Regions from separate parts of the Homo sapiens genome. Here region 2 is linked to region 1. The links are contacts of gene promoters, found by promoter capture Hi-C in human tissues and cell types (Jung and others, 2019). All regions are on one chromosome and are shown on one strand. The core of a region is centred on a gene start or on the middle of the fragment in contact, and the rest is flanking DNA. Distances in the headings are between cores, read along the strand shown. Region 1 holds the start of FRG2C (FSHD region gene 2 family member C). Region 2 holds the start of MIR1324 (microRNA 1324).

Region 1 (4,378 bases), core at 471-2,970:
ATAGGGTCAGGGTGCTCCCAGCTTAGCCTCATCTGATCCACTGACAGGCTCAGTTATCTCCTGCCCAGGGAAGGGATGGGCTTCTCTATCCAGGGCTGAATCCCCAGGACCAGGCAGTGTGGCTGGGACAAGCCAGCTCTCAGCAGGGAAGACATAAGCTGCCTGAGTGGCCATGGAATACAAGGTCTGCACCTGGGCACACAGAGGCCCCCGGAGCCGAGTGAGCAGTGTCAGCTGCTCACAGGTCAGTGGAGAATGGATCTGCTGTGCCCACACCTGGGCTAGGTCTTGATAAACAGCCTCCGACATAGCTCGCACAGAGGTCACCAAGCTTTTTCGAAGTGACGGTGTTTGGACTTCTAGGGCCCGAGACCTATGCCGCTTGCTGCGCCCAGTGCAAGCCCTGGAACTTCCCCTATGGTGGGCATCACAGGTCTCCTGGATTTCACTGTTGTGCACAGCAGTGGAGGATCTTGATTTTTTATTCAACGTCAAGTTGCACTCCTCTTCTGGACAGTTCCCTGCAAAGAAAGCATGTGAGAGACTCACCAGAGCAGTCCCCACAGACCCTCATTTCCAGAACCCCCTGTGCACCCAGGTGAACCCCATTTGTCTCTCCCACTCCTTCCTGACCATCTCAGGACTGGAATGAAGTGAGGCTGAACCACTTGTGAGTCCCCAAATATTCTCAGAGTGCTAGGATCTCAAAAATTTACTTGTCAATAAGTAATTCCCTTTCCGCTCAAGCCTCGTATAAAAGTTTCCTGATTATTTGCCTTTTGGGGCAAACCAAAAACAAAAAAACCACCACCACCACCAACAACAACAAACACCAAGATTCTACCTGCTCTGTCTTGGCAGATATCCTTGGAACTGATTTTTCTTTTCCTGCAGTTTTCCTGATATGAGCTGGACTCTGGTTCTGTGAACACAATGAGAGTTTGAGAAAGTGCCTCCAACTGAACACCCTGAAATTCCTAGTCCATCCTGGACACACAGGAGCTGAGGTTACCGCCAAACCCCAGCTCTCTTCTGTTCTCCAGTGTCCAGGATCTGTACTGCCCTGGCTGCCAAGGAGCTCCCAGTTTCCTTGCCAGGGGAGCCTGTGTTGCTGCCCTGTCCCTTCTCACCTTGAAAGAGTCAAATCTTACCTGATCCAGCAGTGCTGTTCCCGGCCTTGAGCTTGGTTTCCTCAGAATTCTCCTTGTTTGGATTGGGATCTGATCCTGCTGCAAGAGAAGGTTTAGATGGCTCACCTCTCCCTAGGCAGAGTCCCATAGTCTATCTCTCATGCATTTTTGAGAATCAGTCTTTCATGTGAAGCTCTTCTGCCAGTGTCATGAGTGAACACATTTCTCAAAGTCCCCTAAGGGCACTAAGCCATTTCCCATCCCCAAATCTCAAAATAAAACCCTGCTAAAGACACATAGCTCAGTATCCCTGATTCCAACCCTCCTTCCAGCCTCCATAGGAGCAGCCCAAGGCCTTACCTTGCCTTTGTGTGTGCTTCTCACTGGAATGGGAGAAGGCGGTCTTGCCTTTTCCTTTGAATGGTTTCTTCTCATCTGAGCCCTTTTCTGTAAAGGAGATCTGTTGGAAAGGGGGCTGGTCAGTGGAGCACTGGATGGAGGAACAGTGGAGATCGGGGTCTTCATTTCCCTTTCCCATGTTGAAGCTCAAGTGAAAGGTGCGCTCTCTCACATGTCCAAAGGCAGAGTGTGGGTTAGTCTGCTAGACCTGCCTTTTATACGTCCCTCGGCTGGGCGTGGCTTACTCTTATTGGCTGAAGAGTTTTCTCATTCCTGCCGCTTCTTAGAGCCTCAATCAGAAGTTTCTTGCTGTAGTTCTACTGGGGACCTAGACACAGTTAAGGGGAGACATTTTCAGGATCTTGTCATAGTGTCAAGAAAACAAAGAACCGGGAGCACAGGGACCGGAAGATCAGGGAATCATTTCTTCCGATTTCTGTCCCAGTTCCTACCTGGAGGTATTTATGATCCTGTTCACCTTTCAAGATGCACAATTAAACATGTCTATATTGACATATGTTATATATTTTGCACAGAAAGAGAATTTATTATACATAGTGTTAACGTTGTATGCATAGATATTATAATTTCTTAAATGCTTGGAAACAACAAATGTCAAATTATGGTTGAGTCTATTAGATCCACACATAGATGATGAAATAAAAGTGCAGAGAAAAAATAAATACCAAATGAAATGGCCCTTCCTACCTTAAAAATGGGGAAGATAATTAGATCAAATGCAATAAAATTGCATTGATTAGGTTGAGCCAGTGCTAACCTAATCAGCCCCTGATTCTAGGTGGAAAAACTTTCCCCCTTTCTCACCCTTCCTCAGTCATCCTGGGAGGGCCATTGTGTTCTGTGGAATTTATTCAGCCTCCCTAGTAAAAATGGACTTGGTCGCAAACAGGTAACCCAGCTGATCACAAGAAAAACAGCCTAGATTCTAAACATTCAGCTCCTGTCTTCACACCGCAGACACCACCTGAATCCCGTCAAAGCCCACATTATTTCTCAACAACCACCATATTCCAGGGCAGCCTCTCAAAATTGCCTCAGTGAGACGGGACAAAGTGTGGTGGAGCTCCAGGTTCAGAATAGCTGCCTCATCCCTTCCTACTGCGGCGGAGTCTGTCTCTGCTGGTCAGAGCCCTCCAACTAGCCTAGGCTACGTCCAAGCAAGTGTCCCCTAAAAGGACCTTCTTCTCTCCCCCTCTGCTGAGGAAAGCATGCAGGAATGAGACTTTCTATGTTAGGGAGTACTCGGCCTCCAGTCCCAAATGACTTGATTGACTGATGAAATGATTCCTTGAGGAGGAGAAAGACACGGGGAAGAGACTGTGTTGGGTGAGTCTGTGTTTTCCCAGCTGTGCTGCCTGTGCAAATAGTGGAACCAAAAAAGAATTAGTGGTAGACAGACACTGCCTAGTGAAATTGTCTGAATGTAAATGGAACTTATCATAATATGATATCATTATATATTATAATATTATAAAATTTATTTGACATCTAAATAAATTTTGATATGATATATAAAATTTGGTCAGGTAATTTTATAAGAAAATTGAGTTACATTTTTTAACAATATTAACATATAAACTCAATAGAAAGCTAGGAAAATTGTCTGCTCTTGTGTAAATGACTGCTTTTTGGATAACTCTGTAAAAGGTGTGAAGGGGGTCTGCTACTTACTTGATAGTAAGTACTTGATAAGACATCGACTTCCACATCTTTGCTGTTTTTAACCAGTGCCCTCTCAAGATATGAGAATATTTTACTCTAAGGAAGTATTTTCATAGATATCATAATAGGAATTTTGTTCATTTTAGTTAATAAATTATTATAACATTTAGTGATTATTAATAATTTATGTCACTGTTAAAATATACTCCTACAGACAACATATTACATATGTGTTTTGATTTGTCCTTTAATCTCAGGTAAATTTTTTAAATTTTTATTTATTAAATTCTATATATTTTAGATAAAAGAGACCTTGTAACTGCCATATGATGTACTTTCTTAGAAAGAGAAATTCTCAGGCAAAACTCAGGTCTGGCCAGGCACGGTGCCTCATGCCTGTAATCCCAGCACTTTGCGAGGCCAAGGCGGGTGGATCGCCTTAGGTCAGGAGTTCAAGGCTAGCCTAGCCAACATAAGGAAACCCCATCTGTACTAAAAATACAAAAAAAAAAAAAAAAAAAAAAATTAACTGAATGTGGTGGCTCACGCCTGTAATCCCAGCTAGTTGGGAGGCTGAAGTGGGCAGATCACCTGAGGTCAGGAGTTCAAGACCAGCCTGGGCAACATGGTCAAATCATGTCTCTACTAAAACATACAAAAATTAGCCAGATGTGGTGGCTGTTGCCTATAATCCTAGCTACTCGGGTGGCTGAGACTGCAGAATCACTCAAACCTGGGAGGTGGAGGTTGCCATGGGCCAAGATGGTGCCACTGCACTCCTGCCTGGACAATGAGTGAAAACTCTGTCGAAAGAAAAGAAAAGAAAAGAAAAGAAAGAAAAACTTGAGAGGCAATGCTTAGCTAAGTGGCTCTCAGCCCATGCTTCCAGTCATAATCACACGGCCAGCTTAAAGAAATACCATCACCTGTGCCCTCCCCAGAGACTCTGTCTATTGGTCTTGGTGGGAGCATCTATGTGGTTGTAATTAGAAAGTCAAATTGTCCCTCTTTGATAATTATATAATATCATATATACAAAAATTCTAAAGACCACCAAAAAAACTCTTAGATTTGATAAATAAATTTAATAATGTTTCAGGATGCAAAAATCAATGTACAAAAATTGGTAGCATTTTTATACACTAATGATGATCAAGCTGAGAACT
Region 2 (3,944 bases), core at 1,355-3,854, 36 kb after region 1:
ACTTCCAAATGAACAGACCAGCATGGAGCCTCCAGGAAAGTGCATAGAATTCTGTCTGGTACCCAGAGGGAAGGGGGTTCCCAGTGAGGGCAGGACCAGGCTTCATGCACCTCTTCAGGAATGTTCTCCTCATAGTCCAGCCTCAAGGTGTGCATCCTCTGTGTGCATGGAGTCCATGGCAGGCTCTGCCTGGGGAGCCGTCCAGCTGCACACCTGCAATGTGGTGGTGACCCTCTTGAATGGGTGGTTCTGGGCCCCATGGCTGGCAGCAGAGAGGGAGATGTTCAGCCACCAAGCCCAGAGCCCTGCCACAGGCTTCTGTGAGGCCTCCATCTGCTCTGGGTTCTTGCCCTGAGAGGCTGCCCTGAAGTCAGACAGAAGCAGGTGGGCCTCTCTTCCAGGGCTGCTCTCTCCCCCACTGACAGCTCCCTAGAGGGCGACTCAGACAGTGGGGACAGATTCTTCAGGCAGAAGCACTGGAGTTTAGGCTGGCCGGTTCATTCCATACCCCCACATGACATGACACAAGGCAGAGGCTGTGGGACAAAGGCATTGCCTTTTCTTCTGGCATGAGGAACGGCTTAGGAAGCAGGGGATGGTGGGGCTGGGGTTGAGTGATGGGCTGTGGGCCACAAGGAGTGGGTGGGCACTGAGCAAGTGTCCTGGTTGTCTGTCCACAGACCCAGAACGAGTGGCATCCCAGGAGCCTGTGAGGGGCTGGCAGAGACTTACTGGTTCCAGTAAAAGCCCCATGTGGATGCAGTAATGCTGCCTGCTGGTCCTTGGCTGTAATTACAAACAGGTACAAGAGGTACCCATGCTTCTTGAAGCTCTCAGGGAGTGGGTTCCAGCTGCTCATGGTAGGCACTTTTAGTCACTGAACGTGCTTCAGGTATGTCCAAGTTTGATTAAGCCAGGCATCTTGCTGTGAGGCCCTCCACTTCACTAAGGACACTCTTCCTTTCTCCCCCTGGAAGTTGGACCTTCCAGTTCTGGTTCTGGAGACACGATGGCCCCCCCTGGACCTATATTATCCTGGCTCCTATATTTACTGTCCCAGTTCTAGTATCAGACATTTCTTCAAAGAGCCTGATTCCTTTCAGAATGGTAGGAAAACTTGCATCTGGCTGCTGAATGAGCACATTGTATCTTGTCCCTCATTGGCAATGCTAGGAAGTATATGTGTGTGTCTAACCTACCTATACACACCTAATTATAAAGTTTTCTATGTAGAACTGTGTGTATCTATATTAAACTAAACATAAGTTTACATTGATGTCTCCACCTCTGATCTACTATCACATGAATCATTCTAGCCTTCTCGCCTTGCTAATTTGTAACCTCCCACTTCAACAGTGAGAAACCTGGTTCCCACCATCTGTGACTTATGTAAGTCATTGTTTTATTCCAGATACAGACACCGTGGTTTTACAATTGTTCACAATTGCTTCTGTTGGAAAGAACTTTATAAAATGGAATCCAATGATGAAGTATAGTTCATTTGCCATCAGCCTACAGATTCTATTCATTTTCAAAGTTACTTAGGTCAACACCATTTTCCCTACACCTTCAGTGAGTTTTTACCTACATTTGTGTCTTAGTCCATTTTGTGCTTCTGTAACAGAATACCTGAGGCTGCATAATTTATAAGTAAAAAAGGTTCATTTGGCTCACAATACTGGTGGCTGGGATGTCTGAGATTGGGCAGTTGCATCTGGTGGGGCCTCAGTCTTTTTCACCTCATGGTGGAAAGTGGAAGGGGAGCAAGGGGTGCACCAGAGATCACATAGCAAAAGTGAAAGCAAGAGGGAAGCCAAGGAAGCCAGACTCTTTTTAATTACCTAGTCCTGCAGGAATTATCTATTCCTGTGAGAACAGAACTCACTCACCCCCATGGAGGACATTAATCTATTCATGAAGGATCCGTCCCCACGACCCAAACACTGTCCACTAGGCCCCACCACCCCACACTGACACAGTGGGGGTTAAATTTCAACATGAGCTTTTGCGGGGACAAACCACATCCAAACCATAGTAATTTGTAGCATAAATTCTTTTTCACATGATGTATTCTGTCCTGGGATACTCCACATCCTGAGTAATTTTATTTAATTTGAATAGAGTTTGCTTTAACCATTTGCCTGTAAAATTCTGCATATTTTGAAAAATGCATTGTGGCAGATATCCCACTATTAAAGTATCATATGGAATGCTTCAAACCCCCACCCCATGGAGCCAATGGCTTCCCATCTGTGTAGTTTGCCTTCTCCAGTGTCTCATTAAATGAGGTCACACTGTGTGTATCCTCCTCAGACTGTCTTCTTCCACTTAGCAATGTGCATGTAAGATTCACTCATGTCTTTGTGTGAGTTGATAGCTTGTTCCTTTGTATGGCTAAATAGTATTCCATTACATGAATGTACCACAATTTGGTTATGCATTTTGGGGAGCAGAACCTTCCTTTTCTAACTTTGTTCCAGGGTTGGAGACCTTAAAATTAACTGACAATAGATGCATTAGTAGGAGAGACAATACTTGGCTTCTTGTTCCCCAAGTATCATTGTGGGACAAAATTCATCAGATGGCAGGATCCAGTTCGCAAAGAGGTAAAAATAGTCAAGAAACAAGAAACAAGACTAGAATCTGATAACCCACAATGGCTATAGTTTTCCTTTAAAAAAATTTTTTTTGAGACAGGGTCTGGCTCTTTCACCCAGACTGGAGTGCAAAGGTGCAATCTCAGCTCACTGCAACCTCTACCTCCTGGGTGCAAATGATCCTCCCTCCTCAGCCTCCTGATTACCTGGGACTACAGGCACACGCCATCATGCCCATCTAATTTTTGTATTTTTGGTAGAGACAAGATTTCACCATGTTGCCCAGGCTGATGTTGAACTCCTGGCCTCCCAAAGTGCTGTAATTATAGGCATGTGCCACCATGCCCGGCCATGTTATACTTTTCCATTGAAACATTAAATTTCTCTCTGTAGTAACCATCATTTTTGATCACAATCAAAGTAAGACTATTCTTGTTTTAAAAATAAGTCTAGTTTTGTTAGATTTTGCTTGATTATTTACGTAAGTGCAGCAAGAACAGGAGATGACCACGTAGGTGCTTTCAGGTTTCTTTGCTGGAAGTTTTCATACAGAATCTCAGATTTGACTTTTAAAGCCCTTATTCAGGCTAAAAGCCAAGCCAAGAACATACTATCAAATTTCAGCTGTAGTCCTTATAGTTTTGTGTGAATTCCTCTCTTCTTGAGGCCCCAAAATATCCCTAAATTCCTGGGCCTACCATGAAATGACCTTCCTTACTAACCTATAAGGCTGTGAACCCTGTAATCTAGGTATCAGGCTGGCTTTTCTCAGAGTGCTGTTGGGAATGAAGTTTTTGATGTTCCAAAAAAAAAAAAAAGAATTAACATGGGAACAAATGATCTCTTAGCAAGGTGAACTTTACTTTTCTGCAGAAAGGGTGCTACTCAATAGCTGTCCAGCCACAAGAACACATCAAACAAAGGAGACAGAGTTACTTATAACCTGATGTATCTACCCTACTGCTGTGTCCAGTTTCCATTGGCTGGAATAGGACCTCACAATTTACACTTTACCCGATTGGCTGTTAGTTTAAAACTTTCTTAATTAGGTAAGGGGAATAGAAGAAAGAAAGAAAAGGAAGTTGCCCAAGGATAGTTAAGGAAGCATCTCCAAATAAGGAATTGCATGTACTATGGGCTGGGGCTTGTCTAGTTCTGTCCAGGCATGCTGGAGCAAGCTAGGACAAGTGATTTGGAATACATACACACACACACACACACACACACACATAAAAATAGTGGATAGTTGTGACTTTATAATCTTTGAGGAAGAACTTTCCTCAAAGTTTTCCACAGTGCTTTGTAAGCATTGTCTCCATAAAAGTCAACCTTACTTCCTTAAAATTG

What was found. Contacts are between HindIII fragments. The study calls those that stand out against the background at their distance.
Region 2: a contact is called between a fragment that was not itself captured here and the fragment with the promoter of FRG2C in region 1, in 2 of the 25 tissues and cell types used here (spleen and stomach).

What each region holds. Positions count from the first base shown.
Region 1 is chr3:75,661,670-75,666,047 of GRCh38, reverse strand. FRG2C (FSHD region gene 2 family member C) reads right to left here and starts at 1,720. Exons shown (of 4, transcript NM_001124759.5): 1 at 1,491-1,720; 2 at 1,152-1,229; 3 at 845-922; 4 at 1-521. The coding sequence starts at 1,668. The coding sequence ends at 7. The HindIII fragment of the contact is 22,089 bases long and covers 1-4,378 here.
Region 2 is chr3:75,626,938-75,630,881 of GRCh38, reverse strand. It overlaps MIR1324 (microRNA 1324), which reads right to left and starts at 119; the gene lies at 24-119. It also overlaps the pseudogene CLUHP10. The HindIII fragment of the contact is 9,895 bases long and covers 1-3,944 here.